Regions from separate parts of the Homo sapiens genome. Here all the other regions are linked to region 2. Evidence: promoter capture Hi-C in 16 types of primary human blood cells and fetal thymus (Javierre and others, 2016). All regions are on one chromosome and are shown on one strand. The core of a region is centred on a gene start or on the middle of the fragment in contact, and the rest is flanking DNA. Distances in the headings are between cores, read along the strand shown.

Region 1 (3,907 bases), core at 1,098-3,597, 430 kb after region 2:
TGAGCCTGGACATGGCAAATACACAGTAAATGGCAAATTCCCTCACAAACCATCCAGGGAACCCACTGGAACCATTGCAGAATGCTCAGAACATCTCCTGGTGTGTTTGGGGATTGGACAACATTCTTGTAGCAAATATCTTTAATCAAAAAGTAACTTAACACATATCTTTGAGCATGTATATGTTCCAGTAAAGTATACATGCTAAGAGGGGTTTGAAATTATCTTTTCTTCTCAGCACTTTACAGTTTACAAAATACTTCAATGTGAATTTTAGTCACGTTAGCTCTTGCAACAACTTAATAATGTAGGATCCCCACATATAAATCAGAAGATTGCATTTCAAAGAGGTGAAGTGACTTGTCCTTAATAACCCAGCTAATAAGGGGTGCAGCTGGACTCAAACCTGGTCTCTTTCCATTAAAGTCTGGTAGAAAACTAAGACCAAAACAAATACAATAATGACAGAAAAAAAAAAAAACCACAGCAAATACGAAAACCTGTGGTTCTGACTCAAAGTGCTGGAGACAAAGACAAATGTCTGTGGCTGGACATCCAGAAGGAGTCAGCTGGGACCTGAGCCGATCTAACTAGAAAATGAAAGGGTGCTGCTGAGGACAGGGAGGCAGGGATGGAGGAGGCAGGTTTCCAGTGGGACCTCACCTGGCACCCCTTGAGCTGGCACCCACCTTTTCACATTTCACAGAGCATTTCTACTGACCTTTCCAAAGGGCACTGCACCTCACTGCTCCCAAATCTCTGAAAGTCAAAACGGAGGCTTTGCTCCTGCATCACTGTCTGGACCATACAAATCACCTCTTGTGACTTTGGCAACTGCTGGTCTCAGGGTTTGTATCCTAGTCATTTCTACTTCTTGGAGAATCATTTATGACATTCTAAAAGTATAGAAAACCATCTACTGAAATGTGTCAACATTAAAACATTAGTTAGCTAGAAATGATGCTCATTTAAGTTACAGAAAAAAACAACAGACAGGAAAAGACATGAGCATTTATGGGCCAGCCTCTGTACTAGCATCTCTCACACTCATGATCTCTTGTTATATTCACTGCAATACAATTTGGGAAATGGTATCATTCCCACTTTGACAGCTGAGGAAATGGACACTCAGAGAGGCTAAGTAACGGCTAAAGTCACACAATTAATAAGCAGCAAATCTAGGATGTGAATCCACGTCTGACTTCAGGGTATTTTGCAATATACCACAGTTTATGGCCTGTGGAATTCAAATGGAATTAAGAGATGACCAGTAAACATAGTTTCATTGCCAGTAAAATTCTTGACTTTGCTTTTTTATTAATTCATATTTACTAACAATGCAATTTCCAAATTACCAGCTTCGGAAGAGTTCTTAAATCATTGAAGTACTCAGGATTCATGGAGTCCTAACAATTAGGATTTGACACTGAGAGAGATGCCACCAGAGGACCCACGTGGAGCTGAGTGACTCTAATGTGAACTTTCTTTTTTGACAGTTCTCTGTAAAAATGTGGCCTATCTTGCACTGGATGGAAGACAAGGAAGAGATTCTCAGTCAAACCTGCCTGGTTTCCTCAAACTCTGTTTAATACAAATGCCAAAGTTTGACACATTCTAACCACTTTGCTTTCTTTGGCAACTCCAACTTTGACAAGAGAGTAAGAATGTCTCCTCCTTGACAGGAACAACGTGTGAAATGAAAGACCTCAGGTGCTGTATTGGCTCTTGACAGCTCTTCAGAAGAAAATACCTCCTGCCTGTTCTGTTCAGTCCTGGTGCAGGTGAGTCACTGCCTTGCCAGCCAGGCAAGTATTTTAAGAAACAAAATCTAAGCCAGAACCAGCAGAGAAATACGAGGGATGGATTAGCGCCATTAGCTTTGATGGTGTCTTGTTGTCATGGTGCTAGGAAAATCACTATCATTTACAGTCCCACTCACCAGCTGTTTTGCTAGAATTTTTGACATGAGAGGCTGGTGGCCACCCTAACACAGGCGTGGGACATGGGTGTGCACACACACGTACACCTGCAGCAGACACCCACTCTAGAGGGCTCACGTTGGTTGTCTGGGACGTGATTCAAAGGCTGTACCCATGTGTATGACAATCCTGTTTCCCGTACATCAGCTTCCAGGAAGCCAAATGACCCACCGGCTTACCCACATCGCAGGAAGCTTTGGAGCAGAGTCAGTGACTATGTGAACCTGCCTCAACCTCTGCTCCCTGGTTCAGCATTTGGCTTGGGAAAAATGACACTATTTCCTGTCTCTTAAACATTATTTCAAGGCACAGGTCTTCCACCATTCTGAGAGGCAGGGGGATCTTTGAGTTCTGCCAGGAGCTGGGGGTTAGGGGTAGGGGAATCCCGCCCAAGGGAAATGACTAGAATCTTTGTCAGGCTGTGGAACACAGGCATTTCTGGATAGGTGGCCTCCCCTGTGGCCTCTCCTGGCATCTACACTGCAAAGTCCCCTGTATCTACTGAAAGGGGTGAGGGTGGGGGCATTCATTGGTACTGGGAGGCAAGCTTTGAGTGGAAAGGAGCTTCTCTCGTGGCCCTCCAGTGAGCCACACTAGAGGAGGCCTCAGATGCATGGTGCTCCCTGCTCAGACTCACACTTGCCTGACTCCCTCCTTCGTGCTCTTCCTTCGGCTGCCCTTACCTGGGGGACTACAGTGGCTGTGGGGGTGCAGCGGGGGTTGGGGGGGGCGGCATACCTCACTACCTGGCTTTTCCCAAGTCCCTTTAATTAAGCCAAATCTTTGTATGAATGTAAAATACAAGTAGGCTTTATCCCTGGGCCCTGTGCTCCTCTGCCCCAGATTCTGACTCAAGGGCTTGGAGCAGACTTATTTTTACTAAAAGCCCAAGTGATTCGATTGCAGGTGGTCCTGGACAACACTTTGAAAAATGCTGGGGCAGAAACAAGCCAGCAAGCATATGGGATTCATCTGCTGTGAGTGATAATTTATCTAGTTTCTAAAAATAGTGTTATAGGCTGGACTGTGTCCCCTTCCTGTGCCCCGCCGCCATGCATATATGGACGCCTAGTACCTCAGAATGTGACTGTATTTGGAAACAGGGCCTTTGAAGAAGTAATTAAGTTAAAATGAGGTCATTAGGGTGGGCAGTAATACAGTATAACTGGTGTCCTTATAAGAAGAGATTAGGACACAGATGCACACAGAGGGAAGACCATATGAACACAGAGGGAGAAGACAGCCACCTGCAAGCCACAGAGAGAGCCCTTCAAAGAAACCAACCCTGCAGACAATTTGATCTCAGGTTTCTGGCCTCCAGAATTGTGAGAAAATAAATTTCTGTTGTTTAAGTCACCCAGTCTGTGGTATTTTGTTATGGCGGCGAAGCTAACGAACACAAACAGAAGGCTGATTTCACTTAATAATCATCTCAGAAGGCAGAGATTGCTTCAAACTATTGCATAAACAAGGCTGGTTTGTGAACCAAAGGACATGAGCCCCAAACCTGGAGTCGCAGAGGCAGCATGACAGCACAGACAGCACAGCTTCTGGTGTCAGGCATTCCTGCACTCAAAGTCTCAAAGAACCTTCCTCCCTAGCCTTCCACCTGAGTTACTTTAGACAAGGCAGCTGTTATTTTATTTAACAAATATATGTATACAGTGCTTACTATGTGCCAGATAATAGTCTATGCACTGTACAAATACTAAGTAATCTAATCCTCATTATAACCCTGTGATAGATACACTGAAGAGCCACAGTCCCTTATTCAAACCCTTGTTTGGAACCAGCAGTGCTTGGCATGTCAGAACTTGGGGATTTGAGAAAGATATACAGTATATGTACCATAGGCTTTATAACACCTCATGGCATCTGCAACAGCATCCTGTTATGAAACATACTAATGGTTCTAGTTTCTGTAGTGA
Region 2 (3,583 bases), core at 307-2,806:
CCATTCCAGCCAGGCCCCAGTATGCCCACGCTAATTGAAGCCCCAGACATCATGGAGCAGAAATGAGCCACCTGTACTATGCCCTGACTGAATTCCTGTGCCAGAGAATTCAGAATCATGAGTAAATAAAAGAGCCATTGTTTTAAGTCATTATATTTTGGGGGTGGTTTGAACACAGCAATAAATAACTGAAATACTACTAAAAGCATAAAGAATGTATAACAACCTAATTGTTACAAGGGAGTGGAATTAATAATCTACAAGAAGGCACAAAAGGACAGAAAAGAAACAGAACAAATGAGAAAAATAGAAAGCCAACAGTAATATGGTAAACTCAAATATTAGCTTCTAGGCAATTCTATGTATGAGTAGACACTGACCAAGATCTTGTCTCAATAAGATTTTAAATGTAAAGATTTTCATCTTTTACCTATTGTCCTCTGAATTCCGCCCATATCATTCTCACCTTAGTTTAATGGCCCTGCCTTGATGCAATTTGAAATAAGCTGCTAAGGAGATAACACCCTTAATCTATTCATTGCTGGTGCGCTTACCCAGTCTGGTTTAGAACCGTTTAACAAAGGCTTAGAATCATAATGTCTATGATTATTACCTCTTAGCTCCTAGTTTTACTGACTTCCATGTCTGGAATTACCAGCACTTCTTTTTCGTACATATGGATTATATGAACTAAATGTATTGTTTCTTCCCTCACTACTGAAAATCTATTCAATATATGGAGTTACAATTCAAAGTATTTTACAACCCAGAAAATATGGCCATTCCGTATGTGGTGTGTATTTCAGAGGTGCTCTGCAAGCTCCATGAGGACAGGCGTGAAGTTCAGGCTACATGCCTGGTACGTAATAGACGCTCTGACAGACATTTGCTGAATGAATAAGTTAGTCACTACGGCGTTTGTGGGCTTTAAAACACAAGTAAATGCGCTTCTATCGCCAAAACCTCACAGCTTCCCTTCTGCAAGGTGGCGTACAAGGCCCACGAAATAGTCGGCCGCCGCAGGTGCGCAGCCTGTCCAGCCTGTCCGGCTCGGGGCAGGCGACCTCGTCTGGTGGCAGTGGGGGAGGCAGCCGTTTGCTTCCTCACAGGGTGTGCCGGAATCAGAGGCTGGAGGCGTCTGGGGAGTAGGCAAATAAACAAAGCCAACCGCACCGAAACGGGTCGTTCCGTTTCACATCCTCCCTCGGGTGTCTGGGTCTTCTCGGAACAAAGTGACCCTCCATCTGTCCGCAGGCAGGTGGAGCCCGTCCCACGCGGCACGCGCCTTCCTTCCTCACAGCCGCGTGTAGACGCGGACCCTCAGGGACACTGCGGACGCGAGAAAGGACACGCCCCCTCGCGGGAGCATAAGTCCACCGCACAGAACTCGCGCGCCTCCCCTCGAACGAACGCGCACGCGCGCGCAGGGGGCGGGTCTTCTTCCCGACACCCACTGAGCGCCCGGCCTCCTCACCCCACCCCACCGAACTCCGGCCGCCCAGGCTCCGCCTCCGCGACGGGCCGTCGGGAGGAGGCGACCGGAAGCCACTTAAAGCAGAGATCGAGGTGACAGGCGAGCTGGCTGGACTCGGAGCGCGGTCGAGGCTTTCTGCGTTCGCGGCGGCGGAATGGCCCGTGCGCGGCTCGCCGCGTCGCGGCTCTGTGGTCCCTAGACGTCGGCTCCCGCCCTCGGCGCTGATCTCCGGCGCGGGCACTGCTTTCCACTCGGCTCCTGTCGTCCGTTCTCTCAGGCTCCCGTTCAGGTAAAGGGCTCCGGGAGGGCACTGAGGGGCTGAAGAACCCTAGCGGGGAGTGCGAGCGCCGGCCTCGCGGCTCCGGCCCCGGCCCCGGCCCCGCGCCGGCAGTGTGCGGGGCTCTCGCGGATCGGGGTGATTGATTTTGAGACTGCCCTTTGTACCGAATTCACTCGGGTCCCGTCAGCATGAAGATGGAATTGGTTTACACTTCTTAGGCACTTAGAGCCTGTGGCAGGTGTATACATCAGACCGAGGCGCCGAAGGATTTAGTTGGGGTCGCAGGCGCCTGCCCCTTCCCCGTTCGTCAGGGTGGGGGCGCGTCTATGCGGCCTCCCCCGCGGGCCGACCCCGGGTGCTCTGAGGCGCCTAGGAGCCCTTCCCAGACCCCGGGGGGGAGGGCACGGCAGCTACGGGAGCCTTCCGGCTACCCCGCGTTTCGGGCTGCAGCCCAGAAGTTTGGAAGATGTTTTCACATTAACTTTGAGAGCGCACAAGTCTTCGTCTTCCTCCCCGCCGCCGCGGGAAGCGCTCGCCGCCTTTCCCCCGCGCTTCGCGGCTCAGTTCTGCGAGCCCCCAAGACCCGTTGGACGCTCCTCGGGAGGTGAGCTGAGGGGGTAAAGAAGAATTAGAGAGAGAAGGCGCCGCGAGTAGTCTCTGGGATGCAGGGAGGCCGGGGCGGGTCGTTGGTCCGAAGGAGGCTGGACAGGAGTTGGGGGGCGCCCAGGCGCCTGCTGAGGGGAAGGCGGGGGCGGGGACGCCCGGGAACACCCGGAATTGCAGAGCCGGGCGGCGCCTCAGCTGCACTGCGCGGAGTTGGCGCGGCCCGGGACCAGGAGCTGAGCAAACCGCCGCGGCCAACAGGAGGCGTCACTCGGACCCGGGCTCGGCGCCGGGGTGTCGCGCGGCGGCGGGCGGGCAGGCTTTGGAGCGGCAGTTTTTTCGGAAAGTGCTTTTGGCCGGGAGTGCCGCAGAACCCCAGCGTCACGAGGTGAGGGGTGTCGCGGTGTGTCGCCTGCCGCTGGAGACCGGAGGATGTGTTCTTCTCATCTTTATTTTTCTGTTATGAAAACTAATTGAGGAGCTAGGTTCTAGTGGCTTTCCCCCTCCAGCCACTTCTCCAGTTCTCTGCTTCTTCCTCCCAGTTTTGTTTCCGAGTTTGATGAAAGGGCAATAATAGGAAAAGTTGCGCGCGCGCGCTTGCGTGTGTACGCGCAGACACACATATAAATAAAATCGATTTAGTGTCTATTTTACCTTGATTGGGTTTGATAGGAGTGGTTAGAGAGTGTGCGCGTGGGGAAAGCACAGGCCGGTTTGGTATGGTGGAGAGGGAATACCACAATCTGTGCCAATTGTGCCTTGAGGCAATAACACCAAATGATGAATAATAACGCCTGGCTTGGCTCCTTTCCAGTTGATTTATGTCTCATGTCAGATCCCTCCTTCTTCGTGAAGCTTTCCCTAACAATGCCAGCTTACAGTGAACTCTCCTTTTTCTGCCTTTTCCTTTTGTACTTATCATGTAAATTTAATACTTCGTTATAAACTGCTTTGTATTTTACTTTTCTGAATTTGATGGACTTCTTACACATAGATTTATGACTCTCCAATTAAATTTTTAATATTCACTTTTGGGGACACTCAGTTTTACCTTTTGTTGTTGACCCACAAACAACAAAGAACTAAGCATTTAATATGTGCTTTTCTTAACTAATTCAGCCAACAAAATATATATGGAACACCAGCTGTGTGCATTGTGGTAGCTAGGCACTTTATTGGGCACCTAGGATGCATATTTGATTAAGTCATGGGACCTTGCGTCACAG
Region 3 (3,573 bases), core at 110-2,609, 510 kb after region 2:
CCACTCACCTTCTGCACCTGGGTCTACATACTCTGCCTTCCCTGATGTTTCTGTGGGTAGACTGTCCATGATCCTAGCTAAGGGCAACCCTTTCATTTGTGCCCAATGGCTCTTCTTCTTTCATTTATTCAAGGTAATTACAGCAGCAGTTGTACCCTCCTTCTGTATTATCAATTAATATCAATTGATTTTGAGATAGGGTCTCGCCCTGTCACCCAGGCTGGTCTCAAACTCCTGGCCTCATGTGATCCACCTGCCACAGACTCCCAACTCACTCAATTGATATTAATTATATATTAATCCATATCAATCAGTTAATATCATCAGTCAATGGATTGTTCATCAATACACAATCTCTACTTTGTCTAATAAAAAATCAGGCCTCTCTTTTGATCTCTCATCTCCTCTAGTTACTGCCCCATTTTTCTGTTTTTTTTTGTTTTGTTTTGTTTGTTCACAGCCAAACACCTTGCTATGATTTGGATGTGGTTTGTTTGTGCCCTCCAAACTTCATGTTGATATTTGACCCCCAGTGTTGGAGACGTAGGCCTAATGGGAGGTGCTTGGATCTTGAAGGTAGATTCCTCATGAATAGTTTAGTGCCCTTCCTTAATGGTGAGTTCTCACTCTATTAGTTTCTGGGAGAGCTGGTTGTTCACAAGAGCCTGGCATTTTCCACCCCCTGCCCCCCATCCACTACCTTGCTTCCTCTCTGGCTGCGTGATCTCTGCACACACTGGCTCCCCTTCTGCCTTCTGCTCTGAGTGGAAGCAGCTTGAGATGCAGATGTCCAGTCTTCAATTTTCCAATCACCAGAATTGTGAGCCAAATAAAATATTTTTCTTTCTTCTTTTCTTTTTTTTTTGAGACAGGGTTTCGCTCTGTCACCCAGGCTGGAGTGCAGTGGCACCATCTCAGCTCACTGCAGCCTTGACCTCCCAGGCTCAAGTGATTCTCCCACCTCAGCCTCTCTAGTAGCTGGGATTACAGGTGCGTGCCACCATACTTGGCTAATTTCTTAATTTTTTGTAGAAAAAGGGTTTTGCTGTTATCCAGGCTGGTTTCAAAACTCCTGGACTCAAGTAATTCCCCTGCCTTGGCTTCCCAAAGTGCTTGGATTGTAGGCCTGAGCCACTGCACCCAGCCAAATTTTTTTTCTTTATAAGTTATCCGACCTCAGATTTCTTTATTGCAGCACTAAATGGAATAGACACATCTCAACATTTTCCTAATTCCTCTCTTTCCATTCTTTGTTGGACCCACTCAAACCAGGTTTCACCCTTGCTGCATCACTAGACCTGCTCCTATCAAGGTCACTGTGACTGCTCTACCATTGGTTAATTCTCACACTTTACCTTTCCCAGCCTATCAGCAGCTGTGACACAGTGGCCTCTTAATTGGCTTTTCTGCCTTTACCCATGTTGCCTGAAGTCTGTTCTCAACACAGAAGCCAAAGTGATCCTTTTAACAGCTTTATCACTGGGTCAACTCATCCCATTCATCTCCTCAATAAGTTCATACTATTAATAAAAGCCAAAATTTAAATCATGTCCTAAAACCCTCTCAGTAATTCTGGAACCTTCTCTCCTGCTGTTCTCTCATAGATTTCTCCCTTCCAAGCACATTGGCTTCCCAGCTGTTGTTCCAACACACCTGGACACACTTTTCCTTAGGTCACGTCAGTAGGGAATTTCTTCTGCCTAGAAGGCTCTCCACTCATCATTATTATCTATCCTCTCCAGCCCTCCCTCCTTCCACCCCCACCACTAGAATGCAAAACCTGTAAGGCAGGGAGGTTGGCCCTTGTTCACTGCTCTCAGTGCTTCTTCACTGCTCTCACATAATCTCAGTGCTAAGAATTATGCCCATAGTAGTCCTCATACAATGTTTGTCCAATGACCGAAAGAACTCATGTTTTGTCCTCATCCTGTACCTTCCTACTTGTGTAACCTTGGCCTGGAATGCCCTTTCTCCCATCTGGAAAGTATTCATTCCTTCAGACTTACTTTTTGGTGAAAAGTCTTTTTCTTTTTCTTCTTCCTTTTCTATTACCCATGCTGGTGATTTAAATACACTTAACCACAATTACCTTTATTATCCCTAAGAAATTTAAGATTCAAGATGGCCAACTAGATGCAGCCAGGAAGAACATCTGTCACTGAGGGACCGGGACATCAGGAAGACTGGTGCACATTTAACAGATCTTTGGAGGAAAGGCATTAAGAGTGGACAGAGGGAGGACACAGATACTGGGCTGAAGGGAGAGGAAGCTGGGAACACTGCATGGGGCTACTGCACACTAGGACTTATTCCTGGCCCCCAGTGACTCTTGGGGAAGGGATGAGTTGAATGGGCAAGGAGTGACCCACCCTTACCATGGACCTCTGGAATCCTGGCAGCCAAAGACCCCATGACCCCCATGGACACTTAAGCTGGCAAGGATAACCGTTTAGAGAGGTAGTAGGGGCAGGACTCCAGCCTGCAAGGAGCCCAGGGGGTTTGGTGCAGGAGTGTCTGAAGTGGAGCATGACCAGGGATGCCCATCTCTCAAGGCTCACCATGCTCCCCTAGGAGAGTTTAGCCTTACAGAAACTATCGGACCTGAACAGAGCAGGACAGTCTTGCCTGTGAGATGTGAGCAGTCTTATCTGAGTGCCCCACTGTCTGCTAGCCTCTTCTTGGCCTGTCCAAGTCTGCTTGCAGTGCAGCCTCAGATGCCCAACTAGGGTGCGTTTTGTGAATCCATATCATAGATCCTTTGTTGTCATACCATCAGAGAGCTCCAAAAGAGCAGCCTGTGCCGACGTGCACCAACCCACCCACACCCTCCCCTGACTGCAGCCTCCTTCGCGTCACTTTGCCTGCGCTCATTTGCCCACGTCCACTCCACACTGCTTAGCCAGCATGGTGCCTGCCCTCCTTCTCTGACATGGGTGTGCACATGTACCCCACCATGCCACTGTTGCCGACATAAGTGCATGGAGGCCAGTGGCCTTGTCCCCCACGCATTGCTGCTGCTGCCAGTAAAAACACACACATGGAGCCGATAGCGCTGTCCCCATCAGTGCCTTGTCCCTGTGCACACACCACCACCAGTGTGAATGTGTACAAAAAGGCGACTGCCCCCAAGCCTACCAGTACCCCACCTAAGCTGCTGAGCATGGACCCGCCTTGCTGCCACTGTTGTTGGCATATGCGAACAAGCATAGATCCTGCTACAACTGCCCCAAAGAAGCACTTTTGCTGGCATCACCCATTGGAGTATTGTTGCTAGTGGTCCTAACCTCCAGCAGCCAGAGGACAAAGCCAGGGGCCCGATACCAGCCCCCTAGAGTTATAGCATGCAGCCCAGAAGTGCTGAGCTGATCCTTGGTCTCCTAAAATCTTCCAGAAATGAAGACAGTCAACTTAACCCACCTTATATAACAATCAAACGCCCAAGGGCATCAAAGAAGATAAAAGCAAAAAAAAATTAAAACTCATCCAAAGGACAGCAACTTCAAAGATTGAAGGAACGTCAGCCTATGCAAATGAGAAAGAACCAGCACAGGAACTGTGGCAACTCAAAAAGCC
Region 4 (4,024 bases), core at 180-2,679, 390 kb after region 2:
ACAACACAGTCCAAGTCAACACAAAGATTTTATTTGCTTCTAGCACAATTTTAGGGCACCATTCTGAAACCTGTGTGTGACTAAAGGGATTCTGAGAAACAAAGGTTCACTGTGGGTGTAGTTAGAGCTCCTTGAGTAGCAAGCAACAGAAACTGACCTTGGCTCATCTAAATCAAAAGGGAATTTACTGGAAAAACAGCTGATCTTTCAATAGCTCAACTGGAAATCAGGTCCAGAAACTAGGAAAGAACAAACAGGAACCGGGGTGACGCCATAGGCAAGAAGCAGCACAGAATCAAGACCTAGGACCTCCTCATTGGGGTCGCTTGGCTACACAACTGTGAATCACAAATGAGCTCCAGTTGGTTTCCATCTTTTGATGACTTTGTTCAAATGTCAGATTCCAAGGAAGGAGGATCTGACCGACCTCATGTGGCTCACATGCATTACCCCAGGCCAGAGAAAGGCAGACACCCTGACTAACAACTTTCCATATGTAGAATAAGTAATTCTTAGAGGTAGGTCAGGGCACAGCCAGCCAAAACCAAAACTGTTTACCATACCATGTTACCTGGCAGGTGAGGTACACTAAGATTTAACCATTGTTAATCTCTGAGCCCAAATTAATTTCCCACATCGAACTCCTGCCTCCCCACCCCACCACACCCCACCAAAGTAGAATTCTGTGGAAGTGAAGAGACCCAGGAACTGTTAAGCTTTGATCAGACACGACTGAGAAATTCTAAATACCAGCCATCGTGTATGTGGTGCTGTGCTGGAAGTTGGTATGAATAAATAATTAAAATAAATAATCCTGCTTTAACTTGAACTGAGGTTTAGCCTTTCTCCCTCCCCACTTCTTTTTCATCTGGAGCTCTGGGCTTTGACTGATTAAAAACAACAAGGGAGCAAGTGAACTGGAAGGAGTCTTGACTGAGAGCCAAAGCCAGACTCCTGCTGCCTTCTGCTGGGCCAGAGTCCCCTCCTCCATCTGATGAGCCTAGTGCAGAAAAGAGAGCCCAAAAGATATTGCCTGGCTTTGTTTGAGAGGAATGCTAAAACCAGATCAGTACAGGGGGCAATGGGAAGCTGGCTCTCCCCAAGAGGTCTCTCCCTTGAGACAAAATCTCTCAGGCTTGTCTTTCTCTCCTGGCTTGTAGGAATCACGCCTCATCCCAGTGGCTATAACTGAAGCCATTGGCCCTGCGTGTGCTGCTTCTGGTACCCGCGAACAGAAAGAAGAAACCCAGTTCCCCTCAGGCACCCTCATCATTCAGCCAGGCAGTGATAGGAAGAAAAGGGGAACTGATAACTTTCAGGAACAGAAGCAAAGTAACACAAATCTCATGGCACTGTGGCACATGACAAGTCACAGGATCAGGGCGGGGGTTCATGCAGGAATGTAACACGGGAGATGAGCTGCCCTTGAGGACAGGGCGGTGGTCAGGAAATGGCAGACTCCACTCTTTCTGAAAAGAGGCCAGGAGTCCTGGTCTCAGGTCCTTGGGTACTGCAGAGCAGACGTCATTAGACATTTCCTTTGAGTAATCAGGACTGCAGGTAATGAATTACTCCCTTGGGAAGTGGGTTTGGGGCTGCAAAGTGGGGACAGTGATCCTACACTGATCTCCAGAGTCAACTCAGTCTTCAAGAGTACATTCTAGAAAGACTTTGGGATCTTTACATCCACAGAGCCAAGGCAAGATCCCAAGAGCTCTGGAGAATGCTCTTTCAGAGTCCCAGAGGAGTGGAGAAATGACCATTTGGTCCAGGACACTTGCTGATTTGGGAAGGGGCGGCCTTGCCAGTCTGTGGAGCCAGGGTCTGAGTAGAATCATCACAGAGTACTCTGCCCAGAAAGAGTTACAGTGGCCCCACCACATGCAGAATTTAGAAACTGCCATGCCATACAATACTAGTAAAAATATTAACAGGGTTCCAGTTTTCCCCACGATAAACACTTCAATATTTTTTTCTAAAATATCAAATCATTTCCATTTTTTCTCATTTTCTAGGGCTTTGTTTGCCTAGTCTGCTTCGGGTAACGATGTGCTAGGCATGGCCCCAGGAGGCTCCAGCAGACTTTGTTAACTGGCAAGAGGCTGCTTTTGTGCATCACAGCAGGAAGAAAGTCTACATGTGAAAAGCTTCCTGCTTGGAACATGGGGGTCAAGAGGACTTGCTCCTAAGGAGGAGAATATCTGTCCTGGGCAGGCTCTGTTCTCCCCCACAGGGCTTCTCTGGGTGGGCCCCTCAGCCCCATCTGCAGAGCGGAGGCTGAAGGACCAAGAGCAGGTCATGTGGGTCTGAGGGCACCTGGGATGAACTGTCACCCTGAGAACTATCTGTTGAACGCAGCCTTCTCTTCGGTGACACTTAGTCCCAATCTAAGGGTCTCTGGCATGGAGCGTGTCAACTCAGCATGCAAGCTCTGCTGCACCGGCCATCCCTCTTCCACAGATGCTCTTGCCTGCCTTTCCCTGTACTCAATCCCACCCTCGCTCTGTGTCCATCCCTAAACCCACTGTAGCTGGAAGTCCATTTCTCTCCTTCTATGGGGCACTTACATTCTTCTGACCTTTCACCTGTGTTGCCTACACTTAGCTTTTCCTTTTAACTTTTAATCTGTTTTGGGCTCATATCTAAAGTCTATCATATGCTCCAGAAGGCCAGGGTCATTTTTTTTTCTATTCTCTGTGTGTCCTGCACAGTCCCTAACACATAATAAGTGCTCCTCTGTGTCCCTTTTTCCTCAAAAAGCTTGCTGATAATAGCTCAATTACAGGACACATACATCACCTTCACACATTACCTAGAACAGTGGCCCTTAACCTCTTAAGAGTGACTATATTCTTAAGAATATAGTGAAAGCGACAAACCCCTCCTCAAAAAGATGCACATGGACATATATGGAAAAATTGCTTCATGCAAATTTCAGGATTTTACAGCCCCTCTGCAACCTGTTCAGCCATTGACTCTAAGCTAAGAAACACTGTTTAAACCGGTTCTTTTAACTGCACTGCGAGGTGGCTGCACAGACATTGTGGCCTGTGTTTAACAGGTGGGAAAAACTGAGGGTTGGAGATGGGGAGAGACTCCTCCAGACTGCTCTATATGGTTGATTGGTGTGGCTCCTTGCCCAGTGCCCACATCTCCTTTGATATCTATTTTGCAGATTTGCCCTGAGAAGTGCAAAATCAACACAGAAATATCTCTTCCATCAGTACCTGTGCATCAGGGCAGAAACTGTAATTCTTGTCATTCTTGCCCTTGCTATGATGTTTGGCATCTGATGAAACAGTGCCTCACAAAGTCCAGCTGCAATTCTTGCCAGGGCTGAAGCGAGTTCCTCTCCTGGTGTCAGAGGACAGCTTGCTTATTGTTGTAAATTTTTTATTTTCTCATCAGAGGCTCCCAGCTGTCTCTCCAAATCTGAATACAAGAAGTCAAATGTGAGAGCAGCCAGGTGGAGTTATTAGCATTGCGGCAGACCTTCTCATCTCAGCAGCTGCATCAGTTATTCTCGTGTGTTGGCTTGAGATGCCCTGCACCAAACCATGGGCCCTTTACTCAATCGACCCCATGATTCGGAAGGCCCCGGCATCTCGGCAGGCAAATGACGTGATGAGGAAGGAGTCATGGAAGGGCATTGAGCCAGCACCTTACACAGCAGCTTCAGTTTCCACTGTCAGTGCGTGATATGTGAATGAAAATCCCTGCGTAGTCATTAATGCATAATGCCTCAGTCACTGCCTCAAAAATCAATCTTTTACTGCCTCAACGAGGAAAAAAAACAATCCCACTGCTCTCCCAGGCCCTGTAGTGTGAGTCTATCATGGCCACTTGGGCATCACTTGGGCTCAGCTCCCTGACATGACAGAGTGTAATAGCTTCATAAAAAAGCAAGAGTGGTGGTTTTTTCAAACACCATTTGCTGTGTTTGAACAAATGTGCTTCATCACAGCTCCGCCTGCCTGTGGGCTGCTCTGTAGCTGACAGATAGCCCCAGCCTAAGGAAGCTAAG
Region 5 (3,928 bases), core at 864-3,363, 440 kb after region 2:
AAAAGTATGTTGCAGCTTTGTCCAGTGCCTTTTTCAAGCATCTTGTGACATTTCCATCCCCCTACCTAACAGGGTGGTCGGATTTCTTTGCTGTTAAGAGGATTACTGAGACGTTCCCCTTTATATAACTCAGAAGACTCCGTAAATAACAAGAAAGAGCAAACAAGAGATGTCAAGGAGAGAGGTTACAAGCAAGGGCTGCATTTCAGAGAAGCTGGCTAAGCAAAAAGAGGTCAAAGAACTTTCTTAATTGACACTGATAAAGCTGGGGATTGAGAAGCAGTGTCCTGGGCGCCATTTTCATGGGCAAGCAGAGGGGTTAGCTTACATTCATCCATCAAGTGTTAAGCTTTAAACCCAAGAACTTCGGGTGAGTCAGGGCCAATGACCGGTAAAGGAATGAGACACCTTATCTCTAATCAACCCTGCCTCAAAATAGCTCTCTTCCTTTGGGCAGAGACTCCCAGCACACTATAGTTCAGGGAAGTGCCTGAGCCACACTTAGTCAGAAAGTCAATGAGTACGCTTTGTGTACAAAGTTAAGTTAGACCTCTCTGCGTGGAGCAAGGCATAATTTAACAACCCTCACTATGGCTTGCATCAAATCAAGATGTTCCAGCCAGGAAGGAACTTACAGTTTACCTGGACCAGCTCCTCATTTTACAGATGAATAAACTGAGACCCAGGGAGATGGATGATTTGCAAAAGAACACCAAGGGAGTCAGTGGCTGGGCTGAGGGCTGAAACCCTGCGCTAGAGCAGACATTCTCTTTCTCTTGGCAATTCTGCTATACTCATCTGAAAAATGAATGAAACACTCATGCCCCTGGTCAATTTTCCTTCCGTTGTTAAGGAAATCATTGCCAATGCTCCAATAGTTTCTAAGTCAACACATTCACAGGCAGTTTTTGTTAAACCCTTTCATTGTGAGTCTCCCAAACTTCCTCTTCTATCTTCATACTTCAGAGAGCTTTACTTTTGAGGTTCACTGTGTGGGCTGCCACTGTTGTTCCTTTCTCCACTGCTGGGAGAATGTTACAAATGGGTAATTGAAGTACTTGGGGTGTTGCTCTTAGGATGGGGTCAGACAAAAATTGACACCAGCCTCATCAGCTGTTCACCCCTAACAAGGGTTGTGACTCACAGCTCAGGGACTGCTGTTTCAGAAATGATCTGTGACATGGCACAGCTCAAACATTCCTGCCTCGATGCTTCCTACACCGCCATTTGCATACTGTGTCCCCTTTGTGCGTCCGCCACACAGTATGGGCTCTGTCCAGAGCTATCAGAGGCACATGAGGTCTAAATAGGAGTGGGGGAAAGCCTGGAGCTTGCAAAAGACTGCTGAAAACTGGGCAAAATAATAAGGATTTAGGACATGGACAGACAAAGTTCTGGAATGTGCTGTTAGAAAAATGCCTGGCCCTATCTAACTTGAAGGAGTTTTGTGTCATGTTATTACTATCCAAGACTTTGTGTCAGAGACTGAAGAGAAATAAAGCACTAAGGGACAGGACATTCAATTTTGACACCCCTTCGTTTCTCCATGATTGTCATTTCTTAAATGTTCCACTTATTTCCTCCATGAGTCAACTGGGCTGGACTTATTGCAGCTCTCAGGTGGAAACTGGTCCTAGTTGTTCTTCATGCATGAGATTTATCTCTTCTAGCTAGACTCCAAGTTACTCTATAAAAGTCTCAGGGCTTTATAATTCCCGCAAGGTTTCCTACTGAGGGCTGGACATACAGGAGGTGCTTAATAAGTGTTAAATAACCATGTCCTGCTTGGTCAGCATCACAGTTTTAAACTCACTTCATGCTAAAGTCAGGTCATGCTATTCAGGTGCTCATTGCATTCATGAGAAGGCACAAGGGCAAAGAAGAATGATCGCCCGAGGTTTATACCCAGTGAATGACAGAGCCAAGCCTCAATCCCAGGTCTTCTGAAATCAAATCCAGTTCTCACTAACTCTTCTGTCTATCATAGGATGGATAAAGAAAATAGGCTAAAGGCATTTAGGTTAAAGCTGGTGAAAAGTGAAATCGTTCATTGCTGGGGGTGGAGGGTGGGGCAGGTCTTAAAATTTTTAAAGGACAATTTAACTGTTATATCCTCAGCTTACTACATAAGTTACACAAAGACTTCCATACATTTATGTAATTGTAACAGTGTTTAACTTTTTTCTTGCAAGAGTTCCATCATAATCAATTGGTTTAGCAGAATAAAAATTGGTTTCTTTTTAGCTGAAGAACTAAAAATAGGAGGCAAATTAATATTCAGCAAATGAGATGAATCTCTATGAGGTATGGCTTTATTGTTCTGATGAACACCAACTCAATGTGGTGTTCGAAATGTCTCAGTAACACCCATATTCATGTTCAAAGATGATGTCACCAAGGAACATCCACAGGCATTCACTGAGTGCACAGCACGGTTCTGGATGGCTTTCCAGAACCATCAGCTAGCTATAGGACCTTAGGTACATACTAAAGGACCCAACGTTTTTTTAACACCAACCATGTTCCAGAAACCTTGAAAAACACTTTGCATGTTATTACATTTAACCCTTGTGACAACTTTATGATTTAAAATGAGGACCCTTAGCAGAGAGTAGTCATTAATTTACTCAAAATGACATGGCCAATAAATGGCAAAGCTGGGAGCTGTATCAGATATTAGTGACTCCAAAGCCCATATTTTTCCCACTATACCAGAGCTTCTCAATCCTAATTCATATTAGTATCACCCAAGGAGCTTTCATATTGTAATGATGCCTGGGTCTCACCTCAGACCAATTACATCAGAATATCTGAGGATCTATCCTGGATGTTTTTTTCTGGATGTCTTTTCATCACCCTAAGTGATTATACTATGCAACCAGAGTTAACAACCACTGAACTGGGTGTGCTGAGACTCAGTGCCTTCAACTGTAAAGTAGATGGAGATCTCTACTTTCTACTTCTGTAGTCACCAGAAGGCTAATTACCCTGGGGCCAATAGCTGCCTGAGAAGCCCCAATCTGCACCTAGAGTAAGCAGTTGTCACCCATACTGTCAGATATTCTCCCAACTTTCTACTTAAGTGTGGGCTATGAGTACAGCTGTTTAAACTTCCAGGAATGGGACTCTAAGATATACAATTATTTCATATATTCATATATATGTGAACCCCAAATATCTGAGACAGATCTCAGTTAATTTAGAAAGTTTATTTTGCCAAGGTTGAGGATGCATGCCCATGACACAGCCTCAGGAGGTCCTGATGACATGTGTCCAAGTTGGTCAGAACACAGCTTGGTTTTATACATTTTAGGAAGACATGAGACGTCAATCAATATATATAAGCTGTACATTGGTTCTGTCTGGAAAGGCGGCACAACTTGAAGCTGGGAGGGAGCTTCCAGGTCACAGATACTTGAGAGACAAACGGTTCATTCTTGTGAGTTTCTGATTAGCCTTTCCAAAGGAGGCAATCAGATATGCATTTATCTCAGTGAGCAGAGGGGTGACTTTGAATAGAATGGGAAGCAGGTTTGCCCTAAGCAGTTCCCAGCTTGATTATTCCCTTAGTGATTTGGGGGCCCGAAGATTTATTTTCCTTTCATATATATATATATATATATATATATATATTTTTTTTTTTTTAAATCAGAACAAGGCCCTAAAACTCTAGAAAGATTCCCATGCCATTATTTTCTCTGTCTTTCTTTCCAGATATCAATCATAGCTATTTTGGTGAAATCCCTATTGCTCCAAACTATTTTAGTGCTGCCTCTCTGCCATCATGACAACAAAGGTCTTTTGAAAAATGTTCATAACCTTTGACCCAGAATTCTTTTAAGGAGGTAAACCAAAAGCAAGGAAAAAAAAGAACAAAAAAAGCTTTGGGAAGAAAGATGTTCACTGCAGTATTATTTATTATAGTGGA
Region 6 (3,521 bases), core at 832-3,331, 490 kb after region 2:
AAACATGACCTCTCTGTTATATGAGTACACACACTCTGAACTGGTTGTTCTCTTCATTAGAAATACAGTCACTCTGTAAATGATTTGTAATGAACACTTAGGCATACGCTGCCTGGTACATCTCCTGATAGCCCTGGCCTGGAAATTCTGCTGCTGACTCTGTTGAGAATTAGTCCTGAGACTTTGGGCAAACATAGTTTTCTCATCTTTAAAGTGAGGGAGTCTGACCCTTGCAGGTCTAAAATTATTTGTCTCTGGTCATAAACATATCTCGAACTTCAGACTCATTTTTGGTTCTTATTTCTTCTTTTTGTGTTAATCACCAAGTTCTGTTGGTCCTTCCTTCTAGGAAGGAAATTGTTTTTGAATCTCCCTGTTCTGTCTATTCTCACAGCTACACATCTGCTGTTACATCATGGTTGGACCATTATAGTAGCCTCCCAAATGGTCTCCTTGTCTCTATTTTCTCCCATCCTTATTTGTCCTGGGAAATCTCTCAATCTTTTTGAAATACCAATTTCCCTACCTCACTTTTTTGAATAAAAACTTTGGAGATAAAAAATAGAGATTGTGACTTCTTGGCCTTTTGACTAAGATCAAGTGTAAAGGATAGAGATTAAATATCTTTTGGCAGTTGAGGCTTTCCACAATCTAAATTTACCTTGTCTTCTGTTTCCTTGTGACATTACCACCTCACCTTATTCCCCACTGTGTTTCTGCCTGAACCAAGACCAACTGGACCTGTCTGCTCACTAACAAACATGTTATTTACTTTCCCTCCTTCTATTTCTCAACCCTGCAAATTCTTACTACTCCTCCTTGTTAATCAAATCCTAGCAACTTTTTTGAGACTTGGGATGTTCTACGTTTTGCCGAAAGCCTTCCCCCACCTAATCTAACTTATGCTAATTTTCTCCTTTCTCAGAGCCTCTCCTAGCATTTATGACCTCTGGTATGTATTTTGACATGTTTCCTTACTATTAAACGTTATTACTGATCTTATCATGGGTGTATGTCTGGACAAAAATAAGACCATTTTACATTTATTTTGCATCCTCTACAGCACCTGGTAGACACTGTGTGTATGTTAAGCACATAATCAGCACCCGTGGACTGAATTTGCCCACTTGTTTCCTAGTGCCTTTCAAAGACAACCTGGTTTTGCCTTTTCTTTTCCATTCAGGAGCTAATTCTATCCTCACGTGTCTGTCCTACCAATACAGCCCTCTCTCCCTAATAGAGGGTCCAGGGCCCCCATTTATCCTGTTCTCTTTGCAGCACTTTGTAGCAGATCAGCTGTGTTTCCACATTTGTTCTTTGTTTTCTTACAGTGGGCTACTTAAATAGTCCATAACTTCTGCTCCATACAGGCACGGGCTGCAGAACAAGAGGCCTGTTGGAATTGCCATAACCAAAGAGATTGTGTATATTGTGGGGGCTGGGGAGTGGGTAGAAACTCACAGAAAGCAGTATGGTGAAGGGTTTTGGTGTCTGGTATACACGCAGGCTCTGGGACAGTTTTGGAGATAGGTCTGGAAATTGGGTATATGTGACGGAGATGTATGGCCAAAGGCAATTTCATAAACAACTATAAAGTCAACAAACCCACAAATTTGCTTTTAGAGCTAAAGTTAATATTATGCAGTTCAGTCTCTCTTTTTTACACACAAGAAAACTAAGGTCCAAAGAGGTACTTGCAAATAGTAGATAATAAATATTAGCTGATTGCAAATAATCTAATCAAGTCAGTCTTTAGACAGATTCATTCTTTATGGTATTTAATGTCAGAACGAACTAGTCTTGGTTTTAGTCAGCAATTCAAGACTAAATCATACTTGTCAGCATGATAACTAAACAGGACCCATCAAGGGAATCTGGCTTTGCTGACACCTTGATTTCAGACCAGTGAACCTGACTTAGGACATCTGACCTCCAGAACTATAAGAAAATAAATGTGTGTTGTTTTAAGCCATCAAGCTTCCTGTAACTTGTTACAGCAGCCCTAGAAAATATACAGTGACCTTAGAGATTCTTCAAGTAAAGGTAAACTTCAGTAATATCTTTATCTCAATAGCACTGGAAAATCAGATAAGCCATATTAATTATGTTTTTTAATGTTATCAGATGTGGGCCACCAGCCTTAAGCCAGAGGGAGCTTTGTAAGACAGGAACATATAAAATGATAAAAGCTTCTCTACGTACAGTTTTCCTGACTCTGATTCTGCGTGGGACAACCAGTGAAAATTGCAGGTGAAGAGAAGAAATGCGTATTTATTCCTCCACTGGGAAAAAAAATACCATCCAAAGCTACATGACTTGAGGTAAATTAATTTGCTTATTTAGGCAATTATTTAAGCTCAGTTTACTCACCAATAAAATGATAACACCTACCACAAAAAATTGTTAGCACATAAAATGATTATAGATTAATTCATGTATTTTCCAGTCCTTGGAAATGCAGATTCCCTATGTGGTGTTGGTCAATGGTTAATGCCTGTTGTTCTGGCCAGGGATTTTTGATCTGCCAGCTGTGAACAGTTTGTCTTCATTCATTCATCTTTAAATTCTTACTTATTAATTGACAACTAAGTACCAGGTTCTATTCTAGGCATTGGGAATGTTTCTTTAAAAGTTTCTAAAAAAAAAAATAAAATAAAAGGTTGGATCTCTGAGATATATTATTAAGTGAACCAAAGGAAGTTCCAACACAACATGTATAGTATGATACCTTTTGTATAACATTATGTATATATCATATAGAGATATGTATATATCTGGCCAGGCATGGTGGTATGTGCCTATAATCTTAACTACCTGGGAGGCTGAGGCTGAAGGATCTTTTGAGGTCACAGGTTTAGGCCAGCCTGGACAATATTGTGAGACCTCATTTCAAAATTTAACAAAAAAAAGAAAAAAGGAAGCAATATGTATATATTTGGAAGGCTAGATATGATGCTGCTGCCTTTGGGGAAGGTAACAAAATCATTTTGGTGAAAATTGGGGAACACAGGTAGGTGGGATGGAGGCTTTCATATTTTACTTTCTGAAGTTCTCTGTTGCAATGCTTCTCAATCTATAGTGAAGAAACACATTTGGGAAACTAGTGTGGAATGATACTTCTGTAAAAATCCAATAAAGATATTAGTAAAATGATTTTTAGTTTTTTCTTTTTTTGAGACAGGGTCTTGCTTTGTCACCCAGGCTGGAGTGCCATGGCATGATCATGGCTCACAGCAGCCTTGACCTCCCGGGCTCAAGTGATCCTCCCACCTTAGCTTCCCAAGTAGCTGGGACTACAGGGTTTGCACCACTATGCCTGGGTAATTTTTAATTTATTTTGTAGAGATGGGGTCTCACTGTGTTGCCCAGACTAGTCTCAAACTCCTGAGCCTCCCAAATTGATGAGATTACAGGCCTGAGTCACCTCATCCAGCTGAAATTTTTAAAGACATTGAAAATACAAGCCTGCATTGTTTATCATTAGATTCAACAGACATCAAATTATTCTGTCAACATGCCAT
Region 7 (3,749 bases), core at 980-3,479, 370 kb after region 2:
ACTTTATCATTCCATATTGTTGTGCCTGTTATTCATGTCAGTAATATGTTGGCCTCATTTTTCATTGCTTTATTTCTTTTACATATTCAAATAAAATTAACTCTTTCTCATTGCTTTCTTAATTAGTGATATTTTTATACTAATTTATTGAAAACCAAGCCACTTGATATGGTTTGGATCTGTGTCCCCACCCAAATCTCATGTCAAATTGTAATCCCCAGTGTTGGAGGTGGGGCCTGGTGGGAGGTGTTTGGATCATAGGGGCAGTTTCTCATGAATGGTTTAGCACCATCCTGTTGGTGCTGTTCTTGTGATACTGAATGAGTTCTCATGAGATCTGGTTGTTTAAAGTGTGTAGGGCCTCCCCCCAACTCTCTTGCTCCTGCTCCCGCCATGTAAGATGCATCATTATCCCTTTGCCTTCCACCATGACTAAAAGCTTCCTGAGGCCTCCCTAGAAGCAGAAGTGGCTAAGCTTCCTGTACAGGCTGCAGAATCATGAGCCAGTTGAATCTCTTTTCTTTATAAATTGCCCAGTCTCAGGTATTTCTTTAGAGCAATGCAAGAATGGACTAATACACCACTTTAATAACTCCAACACGTTGCCAGCTTACTCTACTAGTAGGCAAAAAATATAATGGATTGGGTCTTCCCCCCACTTTAAAAGAAACTTTGATTAATAGAACTTAGAAAACCTGGGCAAAACCAGATGAAAATGTCCTTCTGTGTTTTTTTTTTTTTTCAGTGTCCTGGGAACAAAATGGTCCCTGCATGTTTGACGTAATGAATTAGACAACTAATTTAGGCATAGGCAGCATGGAGCAGGTCTCTGAAAGTGAGCAGGGCTACTACTTCAGAGTGGAGTTACTCTCAGCAAGTTACATAACAGTGTGAGCTTCAGTGTCTTTATTCGTCAGATATAATTGTTGGGAGCAGGAAATAAGATGACACCTAACATGGTGCCTTGTTAATCTTCCTCTCTATTCCCTCCTCCCCTGCCTTTTCCACAACTGTTTCCACTAGAGTTAATGAGAACTAGGTGATAAAGCCACAAACACCATCCTTGCTCTCTCCAGTTCCTCCAAAAAATAAAAATAACTGGAAGCAAGTGATTAACCCATGATTTTTTTAAAATGTGTGTCATGTAGTAAATAAATCGTATATGTAAATGATGAGTATTTGTTTGACCCAGGAATGCAGCTTTTATAAAAAATTACTGTGCAACTGGCTAATCTGGAATTGCTCCATATTTTTCCATTTTGATTACCAAATTTGGAATTGAATAGAGTTCTGTCTATAATCATGAGAAACTCAAAAACAGGAAGATACTACTGTCCCTGGTGCTTTGTTATTTAGTTCTTCTGACAGCAGATTAGTCAGTCAACCCTTAGGGAGGATGTTTTACACTAAGAAGCAGACTTGGGAATGCCTTGGCTGTTTTTACAAACAAGGTAACCTAATGGAAATTCATTTTTGAGTTGATGAATCCTATAGCACACTCATTTTACTTGTGTTTACTTACTAGGATACTGCTTTGAATTATTTACTTTTCAGCCTCATTTTTGACATCATAAAGACATGAATGTCAGGACACTGGGGAGATCCAAGACTTAATTCTTACCATGGGACTTGAAATAATTTTGATGAATTCCATAGACAAAACATAGGTAACACCTCAACTAGAAATGCAGAATTTCAGAATTTCGAAGAGACTTAATTATCTCTAGTCCAGTCACACATTTGAAGCTTAAATTTGCTTCAGTACATCCCTGTCAAGTGAGATTCAACCCTTGAGTGTCCTCCAGATAGATCTATTAAAAAGTTCTTCCTTATTTTAATCCCCACAGTTTTCACCTTGGGTCTAGATTCTATTATGGACATAAAAGGCAGTTCTGCTCAAACCTACGAAGGTACAAACTTCTTGAGGGCAGGGACTGTATTCACTACAGCTTCTAGTAACTTGGTAAATGATTGCTGAATGAATAGAATTAGTAGCAGAAGATCTTCTCTATTTTGGGATATTATCTTACAGAATGGCAAATGAGCCTCTTATTTAAGTTCCACTGAGAAAGCATCATATGAGAACTGATTTTATTGTTTCAACGCTATAGCTGATTTTTTTATTCTTTCAATCTTATACTTCAAGCACTTTTACCTGTTTATGTTATTATAGTATACCTTCACTACAAAAGAATATATTTAATGACTCTACAGCTATTAACTATTGAGTATTACATGTGCAGAGCATACTGTCTGCGACTTGAGGCAGAGAAGTTGAAACTCCACTGAAGTTAGGTATAAGAAGTCCTGAGTTCTAACTCCAGCCGCACCACTAACATCTGAGTAACCCTGGACAGGTCACTCAGTCTCTGTAGTTCTTGACTCCTCATCTGCAAACTGCAAGGGTTGAACCAAATATTTTCTTCAACTTCTTTCCACCATCACAGATTATTTCTGTTCTTGACTTGTCTGTCCCATGAGGTAGAGTGTCATAGAGACAAAGAATACAGACCTCTGATTTCCAGTTCTGTTCTCAAATTGTATTGTCCGTAACTATCTACTTATGTACATTGTTTAAAGCTAAGTCTGCTTTCTTTTCCCCTCTCTCTTTTCAGAATACTTTTCTTCAGGAGACAGTGCGTAGAGAATGTGAAGAACGCTTTGAACTGACAGAGGCTTTGAGTCAAGCCAGAGAACAGCTCCTGGAGCTCAGTAAGCTTCGTGGAAGTTTACCATTCTCACCGTGTTCCCTCAGCAAGGGCAGCCTAACCTCCCCTGCTGCAGCAGTCAGTAATCATGGAGAGAGAAGCCTTGCAAGACTGAACTCTGAAAAAGGAATCCAAATTCCCAACCTGCGCGGGGTGTCAAAACCCACCACTTTCCCAACCTCAGATAAGCCGAAGAGGGTTAGATCAGGCGTGCCCATTCTCCCCCAGCCACATCCTCCCAGGGGTGGAGCATCTTCAGCAAATGAGACTAGACAGAGACTGGCTGCCATTCTTAGGAGAAGGCGGAGTCAGCAATGATCCAAAATGAGGAGCAGGAAGCTCCCTACAGCGTGCACGCTCTTTCAGAGAGTGCCAGGAATTCACTGTAACTGAGAATGACAATGATAAAATTATTTTCACAGATCAGGAAGGCATACCTATAGATGTATTTAACAAAAGACTGTAAAAAGCTGGAAAATTGTGAAGCCTTATTTTTCAAGAGGGTTTTGATAGAGTAACAGATCATTAAGTTGTTGGTATTCCAGAGGTCCGATTTCTATGTTTATGTTGGAATGTGCTCTATGAATATAGCCTTTTAGAGATCACAGGTAAAATTTTTCACCCATAACATCTTTTCAATTTCTTGCGCCACTACAAGCAGATATATTTCCACAAAAAAATAGATTGTTTGAGATTTGTTGGTATGTGTTCATTTGTTTGTTGAGCCGAATAGGTTAAATCGATGTAATAAGTATTCCAAACAGAAAAAAAAAGTACTTTATCTAATTAAAATTAGATAATCTCCAAAATGCTTAGTTCAGGTAGTTGCAGAGCTCATCATCATAATCAAAAACATCTTTTCCTCACCTTACAATCTAATTGGTTAATCTAATTTCTCTTTAGGCTAGCTCAGAGTTAATGATAGATAACCTTCAGGAAGACAATCTTCTCTGAGTGGCTGGGGACCTTCTAGAAAAAGAGATGGTAATGTCAATTCAAGGAAATGGTAGTTTATTTCTCAAATTATGTAGATTATTTTAG

Evidence for each region. Contacts are between HindIII fragments. The CHiCAGO score rates a contact against its expected background, and 5 or more counts as called.
Region 1: a contact is called between a fragment that was not itself captured here and the fragment with the promoter of TIPARP in region 2, in 12 of 17 cell types (naive B cells, non-activated CD4 T cells, total B cells and 9 more). The highest score is 10.9, in naive B cells.
Region 3: a fragment that was not itself captured here is called in contact with the fragment with the promoter of TIPARP in region 2 in 9 of 17 cell types (total CD4 T cells, naive CD4 T cells, naive CD8 T cells and 6 more); the score reaches 9.2 in total CD4 T cells.
Region 4: a contact is called between a fragment that was not itself captured here and the fragment with the promoter of TIPARP in region 2, in 15 of 17 cell types (total B cells, naive B cells, M0 macrophages and 12 more). The highest score is 23.1, in total B cells.
Region 5: a fragment that was not itself captured here is called in contact with the fragment with the promoter of TIPARP in region 2 in 12 of 17 cell types (activated CD4 T cells, total CD4 T cells, naive CD4 T cells and 9 more); the score reaches 13.3 in activated CD4 T cells.
Region 6: a contact is called between a fragment that was not itself captured here and the fragment with the promoter of TIPARP in region 2, in 14 of 17 cell types (naive CD4 T cells, activated CD4 T cells, naive CD8 T cells and 11 more). The highest score is 15.7, in naive CD4 T cells.
Region 7: a contact is called between a fragment that was not itself captured here and the fragment with the promoter of TIPARP in region 2, in 5 of 17 cell types (naive B cells, total B cells, non-activated CD4 T cells and 2 more). The highest score is 11.1, in naive B cells.

Annotation. Positions count from the first base shown.
Region 1 is chr3:157,097,801-157,101,707 of GRCh38, forward strand. The region is part of intron 3 of LINC00880 (long intergenic non-protein coding RNA 880); the gene reads right to left. It overlaps LINC00881 (long intergenic non-protein coding RNA 881), which reads left to right. Exons shown (of 3, transcript NR_034008.1): 2 at 1,683-1,781; 3 at 2,886-3,335. Among named protein-coding and RNA genes, the nearest start is that of LINC00881, 9.9 kb to the left of the region's middle. The HindIII fragment of the contact is 353 bases long and covers 2,172-2,524 here.
Region 2 is chr3:156,673,034-156,676,616 of GRCh38, forward strand. It overlaps TIPARP (TCDD inducible poly(ADP-ribose) polymerase), which reads left to right and starts at 1,557. Exons shown (of 6, transcript NM_015508.5): 1 at 1,557-1,763. It overlaps TIPARP-AS1 (TIPARP antisense RNA 1), which reads right to left and starts at 2,680. Exons shown (of 1, transcript NR_027954.1): 1 at 138-2,680. RefSeq lists an enhancer at 1,053-1,352 and silencers at 1,763-1,812, 1,843-1,912, 2,283-2,642. The HindIII fragment of the contact is 8,735 bases long and covers 1-3,210 here.
Region 3 is chr3:157,183,924-157,187,496 of GRCh38, forward strand. All of the region lies in intron 2 of LOC101928236 (a long non-coding RNA gene), which reads left to right. Among named protein-coding and RNA genes, the nearest start is that of CCNL1, 26 kb to the left of the region's middle. The HindIII fragment of the contact is 9,450 bases long and covers 1-3,573 here.
Region 4 is chr3:157,063,211-157,067,234 of GRCh38, forward strand. No RefSeq gene overlaps it. Among named protein-coding and RNA genes, the nearest start is that of LINC02029, 17 kb to the right of the region's middle. RefSeq lists a silencer at 1,085-1,164 and an enhancer at 1,435-1,564. The HindIII fragment of the contact is 1,431 bases long and covers 715-2,145 here.
Region 5 is chr3:157,115,028-157,118,955 of GRCh38, forward strand. All of the region lies in intron 1 of LINC00880 (long intergenic non-protein coding RNA 880), which reads right to left. Among named protein-coding and RNA genes, the nearest start is that of LINC00880, 6.0 kb to the right of the region's middle. The HindIII fragment of the contact is 3,533 bases long and covers 348-3,880 here.
Region 6 is chr3:157,166,813-157,170,333 of GRCh38, forward strand. No RefSeq gene overlaps it. Among named protein-coding and RNA genes, the nearest start is that of CCNL1, 8.4 kb to the left of the region's middle. The HindIII fragment of the contact is 212 bases long and covers 1,976-2,187 here.
Region 7 is chr3:157,042,725-157,046,473 of GRCh38, forward strand. It overlaps LEKR1 (leucine, glutamate and lysine rich 1), which reads left to right. Exons shown (of 13, transcript NM_001004316.3): 13 at 2,616-3,405. The coding sequence ends at 3,026. Among named protein-coding and RNA genes, the nearest start is that of LINC02029, 37 kb to the right of the region's middle. The HindIII fragment of the contact is 971 bases long and covers 1,745-2,715 here.